Linked DNA regions of Homo sapiens: region 1 is linked to region 2. Evidence: promoter capture Hi-C in 16 types of primary human blood cells and fetal thymus (Javierre and others, 2016). All regions are on one chromosome and are shown on one strand. The core of a region is centred on a gene start or on the middle of the fragment in contact, and the rest is flanking DNA. Distances in the headings are between cores, read along the strand shown.

Region 1 (4,291 bases), core at 474-2,973, 2.2 Mb before region 2:
TACTAAACTATCCAGTGAGCATCCTCTAGCCCCACTCTCCCTCATGTTCACCATGCTACAAATACACTCATCTTCTTTCAGTTACTTGACTCTGTTCTTTACCACCTAAGAATTTTCATAATCTTCCATCTATGACATTTTCCCCTATTGCTTTCCACTCCACTAGTTCATAGTAATACAGTTATCTTTCAAGGACTCTACTTAACATTATTTCTTCAGAAGAGTCTCCCCTGAATAGATTAGGTCTCTCATATACATTTGTATAACATCTTACACTTTTCCTTCACAGCACTTAGGACAATTTTAACTAAAGAAATAATTATCCAGGTCGGGCGTGGTGGCTCATGCCGGTAATCCCAGCACTTTGGGAGGTTGAGGAGGGTGGATCACAAGATAAGGAGTTCAAGACCAGCCTGGCCAACATGGTAAAACCCCGTCTCTACTAAAAATACAAAAAAAATTAGCCGGGTGTGGTGGCATGCTCCTGTAATCCCAGCTACTCGGGAGGCTGAGGCAGGAACTGCTTGAACCCCAGAGTCAGAGGTTGCAGTGAGCCAAGATTGAGCCACTGCACTCCAGCCTAGGCAACAGAGGAAGAGTCCATCACAGAAAAAAAAACAAAATATACACACAAAAGTTAGCTGGGCATGGTGACACGTGCCTGTAGTCCCAGCTACTCAGGAGGCTGAAGCAGGAAAATCACTTGAAGCTGGGAAGCAGAGGTTGCAGTGGGCCAAGATCGTGCCACTGCACTCCAGCCTAGGCAACAGAGTGAGACTCCATCTCAAAAGGAAAAAAAAAAGAAATAACTGGCCAGGCGCGGTGGCTCATGTCTGTAATCCCAGCACTTTGGGGGGCTGAGGTGGGCGGATCACGAGGTCAGGAGATCAAGACCATCCTGGCTAACACGGTGAAACCCCGTCTCTACTAAAAATACAAAAAATTAGCCAGGCATGGTGGCGGGCGCCTATAGTCTCAGCTACTCGGGAGGCTGAAGCAGGAGAACGGCGTGAACCCGGAAGGCAGAGCTGGCAGTGAGCCGAGATCGTGCCACTGCCCTCTAGCCTGGTCGACAGAGCAAGACTCCGTCTAAAAAAAAAAAAAAAAAAAAAAAAAAAAAGAAATAACTATCCAAGGCTGGGTGTAGTGGTTCACGCATGTAATCCCAACACTGGGAAGCCAAGGCGGGTTGATCGCTCATGCCTATAATGCCAGCACTTCAGAAGACTGAGGTGGGAGGATAATTTGAGCCCAGGAGTTCAAGACCAGCTTGGGCAACATAGTGAGACCCCGTCTCTTGAAAGAAAAGAAAAGAAAAAGAAAAAGAAAAAGAAAAGAATTATCCAATTAATTCCTGCTCCTCAATAGATGGTAAGCATCATGGGCAGGAAATGTATATAGCTTGTTCAGCATTGTATACCTAGCACCTAGCACAGTGTTTGTCAAGTGAAGACTCTAAATAAACATTTGTTGAATGAAGAAAATTTGAACAAATGAGAGCAAAAATTGGACTCAAATATTATGCATTACAGCACATGAAAGGGGCCATTTTTCTGATGATCCATTTATTCATTCATTCATTCAACAAATACGCCAATGAAACATGTGCTAGCACTGCTGGAAGCATTTAGGTACATCAGTGAATAAAACATAAAAATCCCTATCCTCATAGGGCTTATGTCTAGAGGGGGAAGACAATACCAATAAAAATAATTGGGGGATGGAGGCACTGCAGGATAAAAGGGATTGTATCAGTGGAAAGTGGTTTGCAATTTTAAGTATAGTGGTTAAGACAAGCCTCATTAAAAGGGTGACATTTGAGGCCAGGCATGGTGGCTCATGCCTGTAATCCCAGCACTTTGGGAGGCCGAGGTGGGAGGATCACGAGGTCAGGAGGTCGAGACCAGCCTGGCCAACATGTTGAAACCCCATCTCTACTAAAAATACAAAAATTAGCTGGCCGTTGTGACAGGCGCCTGTAATCCCAGCTATTCAGGAGGCTGAGGCAGGAGAATCGTCTGAACCCAGGAGGCGGAGGTTGCAGTGAGCCGAGATCGCGCCATTGCACTCCAGCCTGGGCAACAAGAGCGAAACTCTGTCTCAAAAAAAAAAAAAAAGGGGGGTGATATTTCAGCAAAGAGTTGAAAAGATATGGGAAAGTTAGCCACGCAAACACCAAGAAACTGTTCTAGGGCAAAGATTCTAAGGCAAGAGTGTTCTTAATGTGTTTAAGAAACTAGAAGGCCAGCTGGTTACAGCAGAGTGAGTGTGAGGGAGGATAGATGGAGAAGAGGTCAGAGAGGTCAGCTGGGTGAGGCGGGGGTAGGAGAAGGTAGGCACAAGGTGATATCGAAGACTTGTACACCAGTGCTACTCAACAGAAGAATAATGTAAGCCACATGTACAATTTAAAATTTTCTAATAACTACAATATATAAGGTAAAAAGAAACAGTAAGTTAATATTTTATCACTAATACCCCAAAGTATTATTAAATTATCAATGTAAAAAAATTGGGCTGGGTGTGGTGGCTCACGCCTGTAATCCCAGCAGTATGGGATGCTGAGGCGGGTGGATCACCTGAGGTCAGGAGTTCAAGACCAACCTGGTCAACAGGGCAAAACCTCGTCTCTACTGAAAATACAAACATTACCCGGACCCAGTGGCATGTGCCTGTAATCCCAGCTCCTCGGGAGGCTGAGACTACAGAATCACTTGAACCTGGGAGGCACAGGTTACAGTGAGCCGAGATCATGCCACTGCACTCTAGCCTGGACAACAGAGCAAGACTCCATCTCAGAAAAAAGTATTTTACATGTTTTTTTTTATGCTAAGCCCTCAAAATCTAATGTATATTTGACAAATTCAATTCAGATTAACCAATTTGAAGTGCTCAATAAATAGTGGCTAACAAAATGAATAGCACAACTGTAGGCCATTCTAAGGGCTTTGGATTTAGAAAAATGGAAAGGCTTTGCAGAGTTCTGAGCACAGGAGTAACATGACTGAGGTCCTTAAAGGATGAATTTCACTACTCATTGACAGTAGACTGTAGAGAAATCCAAGTGAGAGATGGTAGCAGGTGGGAACAAGGTAGCTGCAGTGGGGCAGTGAGAAGTCAGAGTCTGGATTTATTTTAAGCGTAAAGCCAACAGGATTTGCAAACTATTTAATGTAAAGTGTGAGATACAGAGAGGAGTCAGCCAGGTGCAGTGGCTCAGAGCCTGTACTGCCAGCACTTCAGGAGACTGAAGTGGAAGGATCACTTGAGCCCAGGAGCTCGAGAGCAGCCTGGGCAACACAGTGAGATCTCATCTCTACCAAAAAAAAAATTAGCTGGTCATAGTGGGCCCCAGAGGTCAAGGCTGCAGTGAGCCGTGACCGGGCCACTGCACTCTAGCCTGGCCAACACAGTGAGATCCTGTCTCAAAAAAAAAAAAGAGTCAAGGATATTCTGAGGTTTTGGCCTGGACAAATGAAGGATGGAATTGCCTTCAAATGAGAAGAAAAAGACTGCAGGCTATGACAATGAATTTGATTTTAAACAACTGCAAGGTGCTGATATGCTATCAAAGTGGAGATGTAGAATACTCAGATGAGTATAAGAATCTAAAGTTCAGAAGAGTGATCCCAACTGTAGATATAAATTTGATAACCATTAAGGTATAGACAATAATCGGCTGGGCATGGTGGCTCATGCCTGTAATCCCAGCACTTTGGGAGGCAGAGGTGAGTGGATCACTTGAGATCAGGAGTTCGAGACCAGCCTGGCCAACATGGTGAAACCCCACCTCTACTAAAAATACAAAAATTAGCCGGGCATGGTGGCACGCGCCTGTAATCCCAGCTACTTGGGAGGCTGAGGCACAAGAATTGCTTGAACCCGGGAGGCAGAGGTTGCATGAGCCAAGATCGTGCCACTGCACTCCAGCCTGGGTGACAGAGCAAGATTCCTTCTCAAAAAAAAAAAAAAAAAAGATATACACAATAATTGGCCATCCATTTCTCCAACAGCCAGGAAGAATGCTGGTATTGAGGCTAATACCTAAAAAGAACAGTAGCTACCGTGGCTTCCAGTGCTTTAATGAACCTCCGATGTGGGGCCTTCTGGCAAAACATTTGCAATTTCATATTGTTGAAGCATTCATTGTATCCCTGGGGGTTTTCGCTATGTTCGCGGTGGCTGAGCCAAGAAAGAAGGCATGTGTCGACTCCTACAGAAATGATGATTCCATAAAAGATTTTGAGGAGATGAGGAAAACGTATATTTCAGAGCACAAAGTGATTTTGCA
Region 2 (5,011 bases), core at 575-3,074:
TCTATTAACAATCCTGTAGATGGCCAGAATGTGTAAGTCTTTAATAACCTCTGTCCTCTACAACTGGCTTTCAAACTCAGTTCTTACTGAAATTGTTTTTTTTTGGTTTGTTTGTTTTCTTTTTTTCAGTCTCCCAAGTAGCTGGGAGTACAGGCGTTCACAACCATGCCCAGCTAATTTTTGTATTGTTAGTAGAGACAGGGTTTCACCATGTTGGCCTGGCTGGTATCAAACTCCTGACCTCAGGTGATCTGCCCGCCTTGGCCTCCCAAAGTGCTAGGATTACAGGCATGAGCCACCGCATCTGGCTGAAATTGTTTCCTAAAGCATCACTTGTTCGCCAAATCCAGTATTTTCAGTCTTTATCCTTTGGTTCCCTGTGAGATATAAATAGATTATTGAAGCTTCTAGGCCTCTTGCATGAAGGGGCCTTAAAATGTTATACGGTTGAATATGATTATAAAGTTGCAAAAGTAAAATAGTTTTGCGCTCTTGTTCTTAAGCTTCAGGCCCAACAAAACTGAATCTACCCCCATATAAAAGAAGTTCATCAGATTCTCTTATAGCCTATAGAGGTACCAAATGGGACAGGGCTTCTCGCAACTTGGACACAGCTAAGGACAGAGCTAATTGCTACACTAAGAGTCACATCTTGAATTGACCAAATAATTCTATTCTTTCCATAACTAGGCCTCAGGTCTGGTTCTCAATATTACAGGTTCAGGAACTAGATTTTAAGCAGTCTGACCAAGGTAATTAACCACTGGGAGATTAATGCAAACTAACCAAACTCACAAAAGACTATAAAAAGAATGTCTATTTCTTAATGTACAAGAAGGAATCAATACCTTAACATTAATGATTAATACCTTAATATTGACTAGGGTATATGGTAGACATTTGTCTATCCAGGACACTCTATTCCCTAAATCAAAGTAGTTTCGAGACCAAAATGATCATGAACATTTAGTTATCATGATTGAAAGTGTTATTTTACTGGCCTTATGGCCTCCTCGCTGCCTCAGATTCTTTGAAAATGGGGTAAGCTCTGTTCCTGTGTGATTTAAGCCTGTGCATGATTCTGACCTACCAGTCTTGCTCAGTCGTGGATTGAGCTGCATTTTTGCATTTAAGGCAAGTTTTATCGCAAGCCCTAACTCCACCCCATTTGGCTGCCATACGCGGGTGTTGTGCGTGTCCTCCAGATCCCCAGCCATCCCAGCGCTTTCCCATTCCACTCATGCCCTCTCTTCCCCTTCCTCCATCTCAGTGTTTTCCCTCACTTTCAATGGCCAGACTGGCCTTCCCAAGGTCCCTCCTAACGTCAGGTCTGTCATCACCTACCTTCTTCCACCTTGCCTCGCCTACTAATCATCACCTCCTAAACTGTCACCGTTATCTCCTACCTGGCTCACACTGGCCCCACCGCCCAGAACAGAAAGGAAGCATGGAATCCCGGTCAGGCCGCGCCTACGCGACTCAGGGCGCCCGGCGCCCGCCCCTGCCCCAGCGGCGATGCTATGAGGGAAACCGTATCGCATTTTGCATAGTCTTCGCAGTCCTACATAACCGCCACCTTTACCCTTCGCGTGGGCATCACAATCGCCTCCTCCCGCTGGGGAAGGCAGAAAGGCGCCTCCTGACGAGAACCAAGGCGTGTGGGGACGCAGGGCCTCTGCGTGTCAGGGAGCAGAACCTGGGCCGAGCCCTAGGTGAAGGGGCGGGGTGGTTGGCCCTGAGCCAATCATGGCTCGTGACGACTCGGCTCGGCCAATCAGAAGAAGGGAGGCCTGGCGCTCTCGGGGCGGGTGAGAAACCGCCCCCCCTTGCAGCTCCGCGGCCAACGCCTTCGCCCAGGGGTAGTTGGAGCGGTGCAGGTTCCCAGGCTCCAGGTACTGGGCGCCTTACGAGCTGGGAGGTGGTGCCTCTCACCCAGCTAATTGCTCTCTAGCCCTTGGCCTTCACAGGTGTTGGTGCCTGCCGTGAACGCATTCTGACCTGGGCCGTATCTGTCTCCCAAGACTTTGTGCCTATGGTTGGGGACAGAGTGAGGTCGTTGCCTTGACGACGACAGCATGCGGCCCGTGGTCCTCCTAAGTGTGAGCTTGCGGCGGACCGAGGCCCACCTGCCTCCCTGCCTGCTTCGCCCTGGACTCGTGACTGCGTCCGCAGAAGAAATCACAACAGCGCTGGAATTGCTAGTTTGCTAGGCAGCATCTTTTGGACCTGCGAACCATATGCATTTCACCTCAAATTTGTTTCCAAGTTGAAAACCTTTGGGTCTTTCTATGCGAACGGATTGAAGAAACGGTAAGTATAGTACGTTTTAAAGCTTCTATTATCTCGTTCTTTGATCTATAAAAGATTTCAATCTTTTTTTTTTTTTTTTTTTTTTTTTTTTTTTTTTTTTTTTGAGACGGAGTTTCACTCTTGTTGCCCAGGCTGGAGTGCAATGGCATGGTCTCGGCTCACCGCAACCTCTGCCTCCTGGGTTCAAGCGATTATCCTGCCTCAGCCTCCCAAGTAGCTGGGATTACAGGCATCACCACCACGCCCGGCTAAGTTTGTATTTTTAGTAGAGACAGGGTTTCTCCATGTTGGTTAGGCTGGTCTCGAACTCGCAACCTCAGGTGATCCGCCCGCCTCGGCCTCCCAAAGTGTTGGGATTACAGGCGTGAGCCACCGCTCCCGGCCCTTTAATCTGTCTTAAACAAAATAAAAAATTAGCATTCTCCAAATATTTTTATCAAAATTGTTGCTTTTAGAACCATCCAGAAATAACACCTTGCCCATTGGCCAGGTTTCTTTTTCGTTTGTATTACCTTTCCGTTCAAGAGTAGAAGGCATGAGAAGTTATAGTTTATGAGTAACTGTTTCAGGAAACAGGAGGCTTTGTAGGCTGTGATACTTTTAAAGTATTTGTGGACAGTGTCACTTGAAAAAGCAGGTGTGTTCAATGTGGTGTGTCCAGATATGCAATTGGTTGGGAGAATAAACTTGAAGCAGTCAACTTGCATTAATGTTAGCTTGGGATATGCTTCAGAACACCTCAGACATGCTTAAAGTCATTTTTTTTGGTTCACTTTGTGCTTTCAAATATTGAGGACATCAATTACAAAATGTTTTAAAATAATCCAGGTTATAGATTCAAGCTATTTTTGTCATTGGTATGATAAACCTAAAGCCTAGTGCTTAATAAAACATACTCTCTTAATGGAAGAGAAAAAAATTAAGAAGGGATAGAATTATATGGAGATTTTTTTTTTCAAATACAAACAGTTTATTAAAAAATAGTTAATGGAAGTGGAATAGAAGGTAAAATGTCAAATGCATGGAAAGTTAGTGTCTGGGACACTGCTCTGTAAAAAGTTTGTAGTAGAATCTACTATGAAAACTGGTAGTAAAATAATAATTTAAGTCGATGTTCATTGGTATTGTTTTCATTTCCCACCCCTCAAGATCAATCTTCTGGTTCTCCACATATAGCTACATTAAAAATATATATATTATAAAATCTCAAACTATTATATGTCAAGTGTGGAAAACGTATTGTATACATTGGATTAGCATAGTTTGCTAGAACAAAGAGAATATTTGTTTTGTCTTTGCATCACTGTTCCAATAGAGAAATAGGAAAAACAGTTCACGATCTGAGTAAATTTTAGATTGCCGTAAGTATACAATTAATACAACAGGCAAGAATTATTTCTTGTTAAAATCTATCTGTATTTGGACTGAAATAATTTTTTATCTATTATTACTGAAATAATAGATAGTTAAAATCTATCTGTATTTGGACTGAAATAATTTTTTTCTGTACGAAAGCATTTTGTCCAATGATTGCTGGACCTTCGTCAATCATTGGTAAAACAAGAAAGATTCTCTTAGGATTGCCTTTATTCAGAAAATGTCATATAATATGAGTAAAAAATTTCAAGGCCGGGCGCGGTGGCTCACGCCTGTAATCCCAGAACTTTCGGAGGCCGAGGCGGGCAGATCACGAGGTCAGGAGATCGATACAATCCTGGCTAACACGGTGAAACCCCGTCTCTACTAAAAATACAAAAAGTTAGCTGGGCGTGGTGGCAGGCGCCTGTAGTCCCAGCTACTCGAGAGGTTGAGGCAGGAGAATGGCGTGGACCCGGGAGGCGGAGTTTGCAGTGAGCCAAGATCGCGCCACTGCACTCCAGCCTGGGCGACAGAGCAAGACTCCGTCTCAAAAAAAAAAAAAAAATTTCAAACACAAATTCAAATTATACTTATAGTGAGTAATCATTAACAGGGTTTTTGAAATACTTTTACTGTACTTGGTACTACTAATATTTAATTTAATTTAATAATTACATTAAATTTAATAAAATTTAATTTAATTTTAAAAATCTGCTTATATACCGATGTCATTACTCTTATTTTCTAAGTTCAATATAGTAACAGTAACATGGCGAAACCCCGTCTCTACTAAAAGTACAAAAATTAGCTGGGCGTGGTAGCGGTGCCTGTAACCCTAGCTACTGGGGAGGCAGAAACAGGGAATCGCTTGAACCTGGGAGGCAGAGGTTGCAGTGAGCCGAGATCGCGCCAGTGCACGAGACTCCGTTTCAAAAAAAAAAAAAAAAAAAAGAAAAAAAAAGTAAAGAAAAATATTTTATGAAAGATGCTCTGTGTTAATTTGTTATGTGATCAAATATTTTTTCCAATTAAGTGGAAGGTGCATAAGTATTTCCAACATTGATCTAAATCCAGTGTAACAAAAAAGTTGATCTTTATTAAAACTAAATTCAGGCCGGGCGCTCTGGCTCACGCCTGCAATCCCAGCACTTTGGGAGGCCAAGGTGGGTGGATCACTTGAGGTCAGGAGTTTGAGATCAGCCTGGGCAACATGGCAAAACCCCATCTCTATGAAAATACAAAACTTACCCGGGTGTGGTGGCTCACGCCTATAATCCCAGCTACTCAGAGGCGGAGGCAGGAGAATTGCTTGAACCCAGGAGGTGGAGGTTGCCGTGAGCCT

What was found. The method cuts DNA at HindIII sites, captures the fragments that hold promoters and counts their contacts. A CHiCAGO score of 5 or more calls a contact.
Region 1: a contact is called between a fragment that was not itself captured here and the fragment with the promoter of CDKL2 in region 2, in 1 of 17 cell types (activated CD4 T cells). The highest score is 5.1, in activated CD4 T cells.

Annotation. Positions count from the first base shown.
Region 1 is chr4:77,864,576-77,868,866 of GRCh38, reverse strand. The region is part of intron 1 of MRPL1 (mitochondrial ribosomal protein L1); the gene reads right to left. Among named protein-coding and RNA genes, the nearest start is that of MRPL1, 3.9 kb to the right of the region's middle. The HindIII fragment of the contact is 6,388 bases long and covers 1-4,291 here.
Region 2 is chr4:75,627,341-75,632,351 of GRCh38, reverse strand. CDKL2 (cyclin dependent kinase like 2) reads left to right here and starts at 1,824. Exons shown (of 14, transcript NM_001330724.2): 1 at 1,824-2,310. The HindIII fragment of the contact is 1,829 bases long and covers 506-2,334 here.